3 separate regions of the Homo sapiens genome follow, and all the other regions are linked to region 3. Evidence: promoter capture Hi-C in human tissues and cell types (Jung and others, 2019). All regions are on one chromosome and are shown on one strand. The core of a region is centred on a gene start or on the middle of the fragment in contact, and the rest is flanking DNA. Distances in the headings are between cores, read along the strand shown. Region 1 overlaps OGA (O-GlcNAcase). Region 2 holds the start of POLL (DNA polymerase lambda). Region 3 holds the start of KAZALD1 (Kazal type serine peptidase inhibitor domain 1).

What was found. The method cuts DNA at HindIII sites, captures the fragments that hold promoters and counts their contacts. A contact is called where the count stands out against the background at its distance.
Region 1: a contact is called between a fragment that was not itself captured here and the fragment with the promoter of KAZALD1 in region 3, in 1 of the 25 tissues and cell types used here (dorsolateral prefrontal cortex).
Region 2: a contact is called between the fragment with the promoter of POLL here and the fragment with the promoter of KAZALD1 in region 3, in 2 of the 25 tissues and cell types used here (aorta and dorsolateral prefrontal cortex).

What each region holds. Positions count from the first base shown.
Region 1 is chr10:101,786,173-101,789,966 of GRCh38, forward strand. It overlaps OGA (O-GlcNAcase), which reads right to left. Exons shown (of 16, transcript NM_012215.5): 15 at 1,192-1,351; 16 at 1-415. The coding sequence ends at 279. Among named protein-coding and RNA genes, the nearest start is that of NPM3, 4.6 kb to the left of the region's middle. The HindIII fragment of the contact is 7,414 bases long and covers 1-3,794 here.
Region 2 is chr10:101,586,672-101,590,175 of GRCh38, forward strand. POLL (DNA polymerase lambda) reads right to left here and starts at 1,586. Exons shown (of 9, transcript NM_001174084.2): 1 at 1,151-1,586; 2 at 575-735. The coding sequence starts at 689. DPCD (deleted in primary ciliary dyskinesia homolog (mouse)) reads left to right here and starts at 1,650. Exons shown (of 6, transcript NM_015448.3): 1 at 1,650-1,729. The coding sequence starts at 1,666. RefSeq lists enhancers at 1,226-1,505, 1,606-1,935. The HindIII fragment of the contact is 10,926 bases long and covers 1-3,504 here.
Region 3 is chr10:101,059,707-101,063,298 of GRCh38, forward strand. KAZALD1 (Kazal type serine peptidase inhibitor domain 1) reads left to right here and starts at 2,283. Exons shown (of 5, transcript NM_030929.5): 1 at 2,283-2,409; 2 at 2,836-3,397. The coding sequence starts at 2,887. It overlaps LOC107984262 (a long non-coding RNA gene), which reads right to left and starts at 1,045. Exons shown (of 2, transcript XR_001747569.3): 1 at 404-1,045. RefSeq lists enhancers at 926-1,220, 2,147-3,035 and silencers at 1,348-1,767, 2,948-2,997. The HindIII fragment of the contact is 18,453 bases long and covers 1-3,592 here.

The DNA of each region.
Region 1 (3,794 bases), core at 769-3,268, 730 kb after region 3:
TCCCTGTATAAGCCCATGTAAAAGGTCTCAGCACCTAACACAAGACTCAAAAAGGAAGCCCACATCTCTCTTTCATACAGGATTTGCTGCAATACTATATTCTTCCAACCAGTGAGTAGTCTCAAAGTGTGATGGGTGAGTTTTACATAGTCTTCTTTGTTTCGAATCCAATTGGCTGATTTGTTACCATTCTAGAGGCTGAACTGTATGAAGACCTCAACTACCATTCACAAGGTGCAGTTAAGAGACTTTTGGACAGTTCACAGTGTCAACAAATGTCACAGGCTCCGACCAAGTATAACCACATCCTTTGGAAATCCTTCCATTTTTGCAATTTCAAAACATCCTAACTTGCTGTAAAATTCCAGAATTCTTTTATCATCTGGTCTCACTTCACAGAAAGCTCCCCGGGAGCCTAGAAATAAAACAAATATTCAAAACATAAATAAGTCACTTAATTAGTATAATTATAGATATAAAACTATAATCTTCGAGATGGTTAATATAAACAGGGCTTGTCTGTCTACACCAGCTCCTACATTTCACACAATTAAAAAAATTCATATTCAAAAAATTCAATAATGAGTGGCGTGAGCCACTGCACCCAGCTTCCCCCGCACCCGAGACAGAATCTTGCTCTGTTGGAGTCCAGTGGCAAGATCACGGCTCACTGCAACCTCCGCCTCCCGGCTTCAAGCAAGTCTCCTGCCTCAGCCTCCCGAGTAGCTGGGATTACAGGCGCCTGCCACCACTCTTAGTAGAGACAGGGTTTCACCATGTTGGCCAGGCTGGTCTCGATCTCTTGACCTCATGATCCGCCCACTTCGGCCTCCCAAAGTGCTGCGTGAGCCACCGTGCCCGGCCTTTTTTTTTTTTTTTTTTAAATTAGGTAGAGATGGGGTCTCAGCCATATTGCTCAGGCTGGTCTCAAACTCCTGGACTCAAGTGATCCTCCCACTTCGGCCTCCCGAAGTGCTAGGATTACAAGCATGAGCCACTAAGCCCAACCAGCATTTCTCAATTATTAATACACATGCGATTCTTCACCACTAATTAATTCAGAAACCAAATCATAAAAGGTGGGAAAAGCAGTATAAATTTACAATTCACTTCTTTCCTTTTATATCCAAAAATATATAGTTCTTTCCCTATCTTGCCCAAATACCACCAACTCCACAAATATGTACTCACCATTAGCCTTCAGTGAAGACAGGAGGCAAGCCATCATGCTTTTGGCCACACTTGGGTCAGTTACTTTTTTGTGAATGTCCATCTTTATCAGAGAAGGGAAATTAGCAAGGAAAGTTTCTGGCAGTACTTCCTGTTCTTCATGGAAACTCAACATTATTTTCTGGAAAAATTAGAATCTCTTGACTTTCACAATAGTTACGCATTAGATATCTAACCCAACTACAGAACTTAGCAACAAGAAAGCAATATTTAATAACTCTTCCAGTCACTATGTAAATTATCTCACACAGGATTATCCTATAATTCTAGCTGAAGCATTTTCACTTTCTTTGAGACAGGATCTCCTTCTGTTGGCCAGGCTGGAGAGGGGCAGGCATTCTCCCTCGCGTGCACGCGCTCTCTCTCTCTCTCTCTCTCTTTCCCTATTTATATCGTCAGGGCTGGTCTCGAATTCCTGGGCTCGAGTGATCCTTCTATCTCGGCCTCCTGAAGTGCTAGAATTACAAGTGTGTGCTGCCGTGCCTGGCCACCGTTTTCACTTTTAAAAGCTTGGGCCAGAGATCAAGACCATCCTGGCTGACACAGTGAAACCCTGTCTCTACTAAAAAAAAATACAAAAAATTAGGTCGTGTTGGCGGGCACCTGTAGTCCCAGCTACTCGGGAGGCTGAGGCAAGAGAATGGCGTGAACCCAGGAGGCGGAGCTTGCAGTGAGCTGAGATGGCGCCACTGCACTCCAGCCTGGGCAACAGAGCGAGACTCTGTCTTAAAAAAAAAAAAAAAAAAAAGTTTGGGTTGGGTCTAGTAGCTCACGCCTGTAATCCTAGCACTTTAGGAGGCTGAGGCAGGCAGACTGCCTGAGCTCAGGAGTTTGTGACCAGCCTGGGCAACAAAGTAAAACCCTGTCTCTACTAAAAACATAAAAAATTAGCCAGTCATGGCGGCGTGCGCCTGTAGTCCCAGCAACTCGGGAAGCTGAGGCAGGAGAATTGCTTGAACCCGGGAGGCAGAGGTTGCAGTAGGCTGAGATCCTGCCACCGCACTCCAGCCTGGGCGGGGAAAAAAAAAAAAAAAAAAAAAAGTTTTCTGGCCAGGCGTGGTGGCTCACTCACACTTGTAATCCCAGAACTTTGGGAGGCCGAGACAGGTGAATCACAAGGTCAGGAGTTTGAGACCAGCCTGGCCAACATCGTGAAACCCCGTATCTAGTAAAAATACAAAAATTGGCTGGGCCTAGTGGTGGGCGCCTGTAATCCCGACTACTCGGGAGGCTGAGGCAGGAGAATCACTTGAACCTGGGAGGCGGAGGTTGCAGTGAGCCGAGATCGCACCATTGCACTCCACCCCAGGCGACAGAGGGAAACTCCGTCTCAAAAAAAAAAAAAAAAATTTTGTCTAAATGCTATGTGGTATTGGATCCTGGAACAGGAAAAGGACATTAGCAGAAAAAACTGGTGAATAAAGTTTGGTGTCTGATTAATAATATACCCATGTTGGTTACTTAGACTTCACCAATACAGAAAATGGATAAGGAGTATACAGAAACTCTGTTTTAACTCTGCAACTTTTCTGTAAATCTAAAATCATTTAAAATACATAAAATATTTTAAATTAACGTATTCCTTACATGAAAATGTGCAAATTTTATGTTATTTATATTTTACCACAATTTTTAAAAAGTTCTTATGCTGAAAAGTGTCAGATGTGGAACAGCAATACATCAGCAGCTCAATCACCAGCATAGTGTCAGTGTAATCCCAAGTAAGCGAGGCAACACCAAACCAGCCTCTTGTTACACAGCCATGTGACTAAGGGCAGAAGGTAAAATATAGAAATAAACTATGAAGAAAATGAGGCCAGGCGCGGTGGCTCACGCCTATAATCCTAGCACTTTGGGAGGCTGAGGAGGGCGGATCACCTGAGGTCGGGAGTTTGAGACCAGCCTGACCAACATGGAGAAACCCCGTCTCTATTAAAAATATAAAATTATCCGGGCGTGGTGGCACATGCCTGTCATCTCAACTACTCGAGAGGCTGAAGCAGGAGAACTGCTTGAGCCTGAGAGGTGGAGGTTGCGGTGAGCCAAGATTGCGTCACTGCACTCCAGCCTGGGCAACAAGAGCAAGACTCTGTCTCAAAAAAATAAATAAATAAATAAAAAGACTATGAATACTTTGGTGTGGTGGAGAGGGGTAGAGAATTTTAGAAAAGGAAAAGAGAAACAACATAGAAGAAAAGAAAAAAGTATCACAAGTAGGGGTCCAAATATCTTATTTACTGTGCATAAAAACTATCCTCAAGAAGGAACTATCTAAAAAATGCATATACTGGCCAGGCACAGTGGCTCGTGCTTGTAATCCTAGCAGTATGGGAGGCCGAGGCAGGCGGACTGCTTGAGCTCAGGACTTTGAGACCAGCCTGGGCAACACGGCGAAACCCCATCTCTACAAAAAAAATACAAAAAAGTTAGCTGATGCGTAGTGGCTTGCACCTGTAGTCCCAGCTACTTGCAGGGCTGATGCAAGAGGATAACTTGAGCCTGGGAGGTCAAGGCTGCAGTGAGCCATGTTTGTGCTATTGCATTCCTGGGTGACAAGGTGAGAC
Region 2 (3,504 bases), core at 336-2,835, 530 kb after region 3:
TTTAGTAGAGACAGGGTTTCGCCATGTTGCCCAAGCTGGTCTCGAACTCCTGAGCACAGGTGATCTGCCTGCCTCGGCCTCCCAAAGTGCTGAGATTACAGGCAAGAGCCACCGCGCCCAGCCTCTCTCCATACTTTGAATCCTTTATCATTTATTCTTTCAACAAAGCGCGTTTCTTGCCCTTACAGTCTGACAGACCCGACAACCCTGCCTCCAAAGCCTCTGCCATTTATTTGCCAATTTGGCTGCAAAACAACTAACAACAAGCCTGGGTAATGGAGGGGGGTTTCTGTCCCAGTCCTCAGGGCAAAAATTATACTGGTCATTCCCTGAGGGCCCAGGGAGTCTTTTCTGATGGATAGAGGTCTTCGGGTAGAAAAGAAGGTAACACAGCAAATAGCCTGTCCAAGACCCAGGACCAAGCTTAGCACAAGGTAGATACAAACAGACCTGCAGGCCCTGGACAGGCAGAGTCAGCTCCAATATCTGATTCTGGACATAAACAACGTAGGGCTGAAGCACATGAAGGCTGTGGGTTCAAGCACACGAGGGTTCTGAGACTGGGTCAGCTCACCTTCTGCTTCTTCTCCCTCTTCCCTCCTAGGAATCTTTGCAAGTACTTTTGATGATGCATCAGCATGAATTTTCTGCCGCTTGGGAAATGCCTTCAAGATACCCCTGGGATCCATTGAAGTATGGCTGGATCCCGGCCTATTGGAGCGTTGGTCAGGGCTGCTGCACGTGGAAATCCAGAATTGAGGCCCTCCAACCCCTTTGCCTATGGAGGTAGGGTCTTTCCTGACCAGGCTTTGGGGGTAGCAGCCCAGTTTGGGGAAGCGGGTCGGGGGAGGGGGTCTCTTCAAACCCGGTTAAACTTCAGTGGTTTAGCCTAGCTTCACACTCCCCAGCCTTTCGAAGTTGGAGTATTACGGGAAATGAGGGGAAGGCTGGTGCCATCGGGGGTACTTTTGAGGAGTAGGAAACGACACCATTCCTCAGAGGGGTTGCGCTAAAGATTCAGCACAGCCCTGCTGCGGCCCACTTCGAAGGGCTTTACCAAATGGGATGCTGGGCTAGGAAATGGAGCTTTAGGGGATGGAGCGGAGCCTGGGGAGGACCTGCACATAAACCCCACATACTATTTCTCTACCTCCAACACAGACTCGCAGAGGAAGGAGGAGGACTTTCGGGGGTGAGTGGGAACGCCCTGCACCTGTCCTGGTCTCAGCCTCTCGACATGGGGGTGCTCAGCGCCGCAGCTGCGGGGAGATGGGGCACGGCCGCAGCAGGTGTGGGGAGCCCTCCGGGAATGGAGGAGTCTCGCAGCTGCGGGTGAAGTCCCGGGCAGGTGCGGTGTACTCGCCGTGTACGCAGCTGGCGCAGGCCAGGGAATCCCAGCTCGGGGCTAGAAGAAAGCTGGAGTGCCCGACCCCGGCCCCAAGAGTCTCTCCAACCCCCAGAGTCGGTCCCCGGGTGGGGTCGACTACTGGCCAAGCTAGTCACCCGGGGGTGGGCAGGAATAGACCACTTACCAGCAGAGCCAATGAGAGCGGACGAAGGGGGGAAGGAGGGCAAATGGCCAGAATAGCTTCCGAGTCAGCCGGAAGTGACCCTCTGGAACGGTTGCCATGGCAGCGGCTGGGCGTGCTGCTTAGCAGGGGAAAGATGGCGGTGACGGGCTGGTTGGAGAGTCTGCGGACAGCCCAGAAGACTGCGCTGCTGCAGGACGGTAACTCGAGGGTCCCCACGGGCTCCTTCGTTTTTTTCCCTCAGGGTCCGGCCCTCCGGGAAGGGCCTCAGGGCCTGGGTCGGCAGAGCTGGAAGGGTCTCGGCGGTCAGCCGGGCCAGGTCCTGCATTTGCAGATGAGGAGACTGAGGTTCACAGAGATGACATGACTGGAACACATGTCTCCGGACACCCCTTAGATTCCTCTACACCATCTCGCTCCGCTCTGATTTCTGTTGCTAATATAGTAATTTCTTTTACATTCATTATCTCATTTGCTCCTCACCACTGTCCTGAGAGGCTAATTTTCACCCCGTTTTACAGAAGAGGAAACTGAAATCCAAGAATGTTTTAGACTTTAGAGAGGAGAGAGGCCTGGGCTCTAGTTCCGACTGTGCCATTAATTCACCACGGGCGCTTCAGTCGGCTCCTTTACTTGTTTGGGCCTCACTTTCCTCATCTATAAAATGAAGTGGATGGACTACCATTGTTATCTCTGAGGTCCTTTCCAGCTGTAATATTTTTGTTAAGTGAACTTCTAAATATTTTCTGTGTCTTTAGGGGAGCTAGAGCAAGAACCAAGGGCTGTGCCTGGAAGAAGTGGGCACAGGGGCATGGATACCTAACTTTTCCCCACCCTAGGATTGGCCGATGCCGGCCCCTTTGTGCACTTGGGTCCTTTCTGGACCCACTGGGTAGCCAGGATGAATTGCGTCTGAAGTTCCTGAGGCTTTCAAGATAACAACTGGTGACTCATGTTCACAGGCAGGGGCCAATCAGGGAAGCCTGGAGTTTGTGGAAATTAAAATCATTTACTCGTTCGTGCAACATTTAGGAAGACTTTTACTATGTGCCAAGCTCTAAACTAGAACAGAAAGAAAAAGATATGTTGTCCCAGGACTCAGAGTGGTTGGGAAAAACATGTACTTAAATAATAAGAAGCGTTAAATAGAGGTTGTAGTCTTGTATAAAATGGTAGGAAAGAGTGAAGGTGTAAGTGACATCTCTTTGGAGGAAGACCCAACAGAAGTGATGATGTTTCTGGGTCCTAAAGAATTAATAAGGTCAGGCACAGTGGCTCACGCCCGTAATTCCAGCACTCTGGGAGGCCAAAGTGGGCGGATCATTTGAGCTCAGGAGTTCGAGACCAGCTTGGGCAACATGGCCAAACCTCATCTCTACAAAAAATACGGAAATTATGGCCGGATGTGGTGGTTCACGCCTGTAATCCCAGCATGTTGGGAGGCCGAGTGGGCGGATCCCTTGAGGCCAGGAGTTCGAGACCAGCCTAGCCAACATGATGAAACCACCCCATCGCTACTAAAAATACAAAAAAATTAGCCAGGTGTGGTGGTGCGCACCCGTAATTCCAGCTACTCTGGAGGCTGAGGCAGGAGAATCGCTTGAACCCGGGAGATGGAGGTTGCAGTGAACTGAGATCACACCACTGCATTCCAGCCTGGGTGACAGAGTGAGTGAGACTGTGTCTCAGACAAAAAAATAAATAAGCCGTGCATCATGGCACATGCCTGTAGTCCCAGCTACTTGTGGTGGCTGAGGCCAGAGGATCGCTTGAGCCAGCGAGGTAGACGCAGCAGTGAGCCGAGATCATGCCAGTGCACTCCAGCTTGGGCGACAGAGCGAGACCCTGTCTCAAAAAAACTGGAAAAAAAAAAAAAAAAAAGAATTAATAGGCGTTTGCTGAGTGAAGAAGAGGGGATAGCTATTCAAAGAACAACTCACATATAAGGACCCTATGTGAAGGTGTGAAGGTACGT
Region 3 (3,592 bases), core at 1,033-3,532:
TTCAACTTCACCCTGCCCATCTGGATCTAGTCTCCCTCATTAAATGCAAAGGATGCTGCCACCTGGCTCCTCTCCCTAGCAGTATTCACATCATCTAGGCTAGAAAATCCCTTCCCTTTGGCCTGTTTTGCACAAAACCGAGTAAACATTTTCAAAGTATATATACGCAAAATCATTTGCTATCTCTTTACTATGTATGATGCGCATAGGTGTTACTGAATATTTTGGAGCCTTGATGGATAAAGTATGGGATGTTGAGGATCGGGGAATGTATCTAAACTTTCAAGTTGTGTCCTATTCAAAAAACTCCCTTCTAAAAGCATTTTTACGGTATGTAGGGTTTTAATGTAACAAAATCTCTACTTAATAACAGCGGATCCCCTTTTATTATCTTTGTGCCTACCTGGATGCACGGTTCCAGCATGTTCTCGTCACGAACCACAAGCCCACCAGAGGGCGCTGGTTCCCCGTCTACCTACTGTTCTCCATCAGCGACTCAGAAAATCCAGGTTAAACACTCAGGCAGTCTTTCACATTTAATCCACAAATATTTACCGAGAATTTGACGTGCCACCAGGCGCGGGGCTAGGTTCACAAGATACAGTAGTGAGTTAGGCACGATTCCTACTACCAGAAGCTTAGAGCATAGGGAAGACTAAAAGTAAGCCACCGTCTACAATAGTAGGATAAGTGGAGAGTTTCTAGGTCCGTGGAGTTTGTTGTTGAATATCTGCTCCAGGCCTTAGAAGCCGGCAGCAATTCACTAAAAGATCCCGGACTTGTCTGCTCTGTATCCCAGCCAAGGAGCTCCGTCCCCAAGGTGTTTTGTTAGAGTCAGAGACCTCTCCTTGGGTGATTCCATTCGTCAGCCCCACAAGTCCCCGTCTCTGGCCTTTTTCAGGGTCTCCGGCAGCTCTCTGACAGTTCCCCTTCTGTCTCAGGTCGACACTTATTCCAAGGACCAGGGATTACTCACAACTATCCGCCAGAGTTTGCTCCGCCCTTTCTTTTTCCTGTTTAAAATCCGCGGGCTCTTAGTGTTCTCGGTTCCTAGATTTCCTGTTCTGATTCTCGCGACAGTTGCGAGGCCTCGCGTGAAGTTCCCTTCTAGTCCCTATTTCGAATTTGAGACCGGGAGAGAGTGTCTGCCCTTGCCCACCTCCTCAGAACCCCTCTGGCCAGGGATGGCGCCTACGTGGCTCGGGAGCCCCTGAATGAATGGGCTTGGCCCAACTTAGGGGCGCATTCCGACGGGAGAGTCCTGGCTGTATTCCGAGGCTCCAGTGCGCATGCGGAGTCGATCCCGCGCAGGCGGGCGGGGACGGCAGCCGGGTCTTGTGGGCGGAGCCTGACTAAGTGCCGCCCCCTTGCCGGCTGCAGATTGCTATTTCTGCCCCCCACCCTCGCCCATCCCCCCGCGAGCTGGACTGCGCCAAGGCTTCTGTGAGCCGCTTGGGGCCGGCCGGGGCGGGGCCTGCCCGACCCGGGTTTGGCTGGCGGGCCCCTAGGAATGCTCTCCTCCCCGCCCCCGGCCCAAAGTGCCACGGTGGCGGTGGTGGCGGCCGCGAGGCCGAGTGTCTCCGGCCCTGCCAGCCTCGCAACCGTAACCTGTAATCCCGACCCGAGGGACGCCCGCCGGGGAGGCGCCAGCCCGCCTCTCCCTGCGGCCGCTGGTCGGCTCCGACCTCGAATCACCCGGCTCACCCGCGGGTCGCAGCACCTGCCGGATGTGGGGAGGAAGAAGGAGGCCAGATGAGGGAAGGCGGATGTAGGCGCCCAGTCTGTCCGCGCCTTGGTGGGGCAGCTGGGTGGGCAAGCCTGCGGTCGCTCCCGGGAACCAGCCCTGGGCTGCGGGGAGACGAAGGTGGTTGGTCCTGCCCTCCAGGAGCGCCCCGACATCGACGTAAAATGACTTGGCACCAGAGCTCCTGCCGCCTCCCCCTTATGCAGCTGCCCTCGCCGACGCCAGGGACTGTAAAATCAGATGGGACAGGGCCTAGCCGTTCAGCCAACACTTTGAGCTTCCCAGCCAAACTCCTACCCCCACTCCCCGCCTCCGGTCCTCACCCCCTTCCTCTCTCCCAGCCTCGGTGTCTGGTTACGGCTCCTCTGCTCGCATTGTGACTTTGGGCCAGGCTGGGGGAAATGACCCGGGAGGGTCCCATGCGGCTACATAAAATTGGCAGCCTTAGAACTAGTGGGAAGGCGGGTGCGCGAAGTCGAGGGGCGGAGAGAGGGGGCCGGAGGAGCTGCTTTCTGAATCCAAGTTCGTGGGCTCTCTCAGAAGTCCTCAGGACGGAGCAGAGGTGGCCGGCGGGCCCGGCTGACTGCGCCTCTGCTTTCTTTCCATAACCTTTTCTTTCGGACTCGAATCACGGCTGCTGCGAAGGGTCTAGTTCCGGACACTAGGTGAGCACTCTGTGCCCCAGGCCATAAGCGAGGCGGCATCAGCCCCCCCAGTTCTCACCCCCCATTAGCAGCTTCTTACTTCTGGAGCCACCCATTCTCTTTGGGCAAGGATGCTCAGGGGCCAGGGATCGGAGTCGGGTGGTGCACGGAAGTGGTGCTGGTGGTGGGTGTGCGTGCGCCTGAGCCTTATCACCCTTTCCTCACCTCTCTTCACTCCCAGCCCTCCCAAGAACAGCCCAACTGATTGCTAACTGCCATAACTGGATAATCCCTAGAGGGTCACTAGGCCTGTGTGTTGGGGGAGGCTACTTGGTAGCAGGGGAGGGGGCGATGCTAGTGTCATGCTTTGGTACAAGAAGCAGTGAGGTTGGTCTTTCGGCACAGGCCCTGTTTCTGACCTCCTGACCTGGCTTCCCTTCCTGGCAGGGTGCCCGAACGCGCTGATGCCCCGAGTGCTCGCAGGGCTTCCCGCTAACCATGCTGCCGCCGCCGCGGCCCGCAGCTGCCTTGGCGCTGCCTGTGCTCCTGCTACTGCTGGTGGTGCTGACGCCGCCCCCGACCGGCGCAAGGCCATCCCCAGGCCCAGATTACCTGCGGCGCGGCTGGATGCGGCTGCTAGCGGAGGGCGAGGGCTGCGCTCCCTGCCGGCCAGAAGAGTGCGCCGCGCCGCGGGGCTGCCTGGCGGGCAGGGTGCGCGACGCGTGCGGCTGCTGCTGGGAATGCGCCAACCTCGAGGGCCAGCTCTGCGACCTGGACCCCAGTGCTCACTTCTACGGGCACTGCGGCGAGCAGCTTGAGTGCCGGCTGGACACAGGCGGCGACCTGAGCCGCGGAGAGGTGCCGGAACCTCTGTGTGCCTGTCGTTCGCAGAGTCCGCTCTGCGGGTCCGACGGTCACACCTACTCCCAGATCTGCCGCCTGCAGGAGGCGGCCCGCGCTCGGCCCGATGCCAACCTCACTGTGGCACACCCGGGGCCCTGCGAATCGGGTACGCATGGCCCGGGGCCCCCACCCCAGCACTTAGGTTTCCTAGAGGCACTGCTCCCCGACCCCTGACAGCATTGGTCTCTGGCCAGCAGAGCAAAAAAGATAAGGCTATAGAGGCCTCGAGTCCAGTATAAAACCCTGCTCTCGCTACTGGTTCATAAAAGCTGCCACCTTAAGGTGGGGGTGGGGGGTGGAG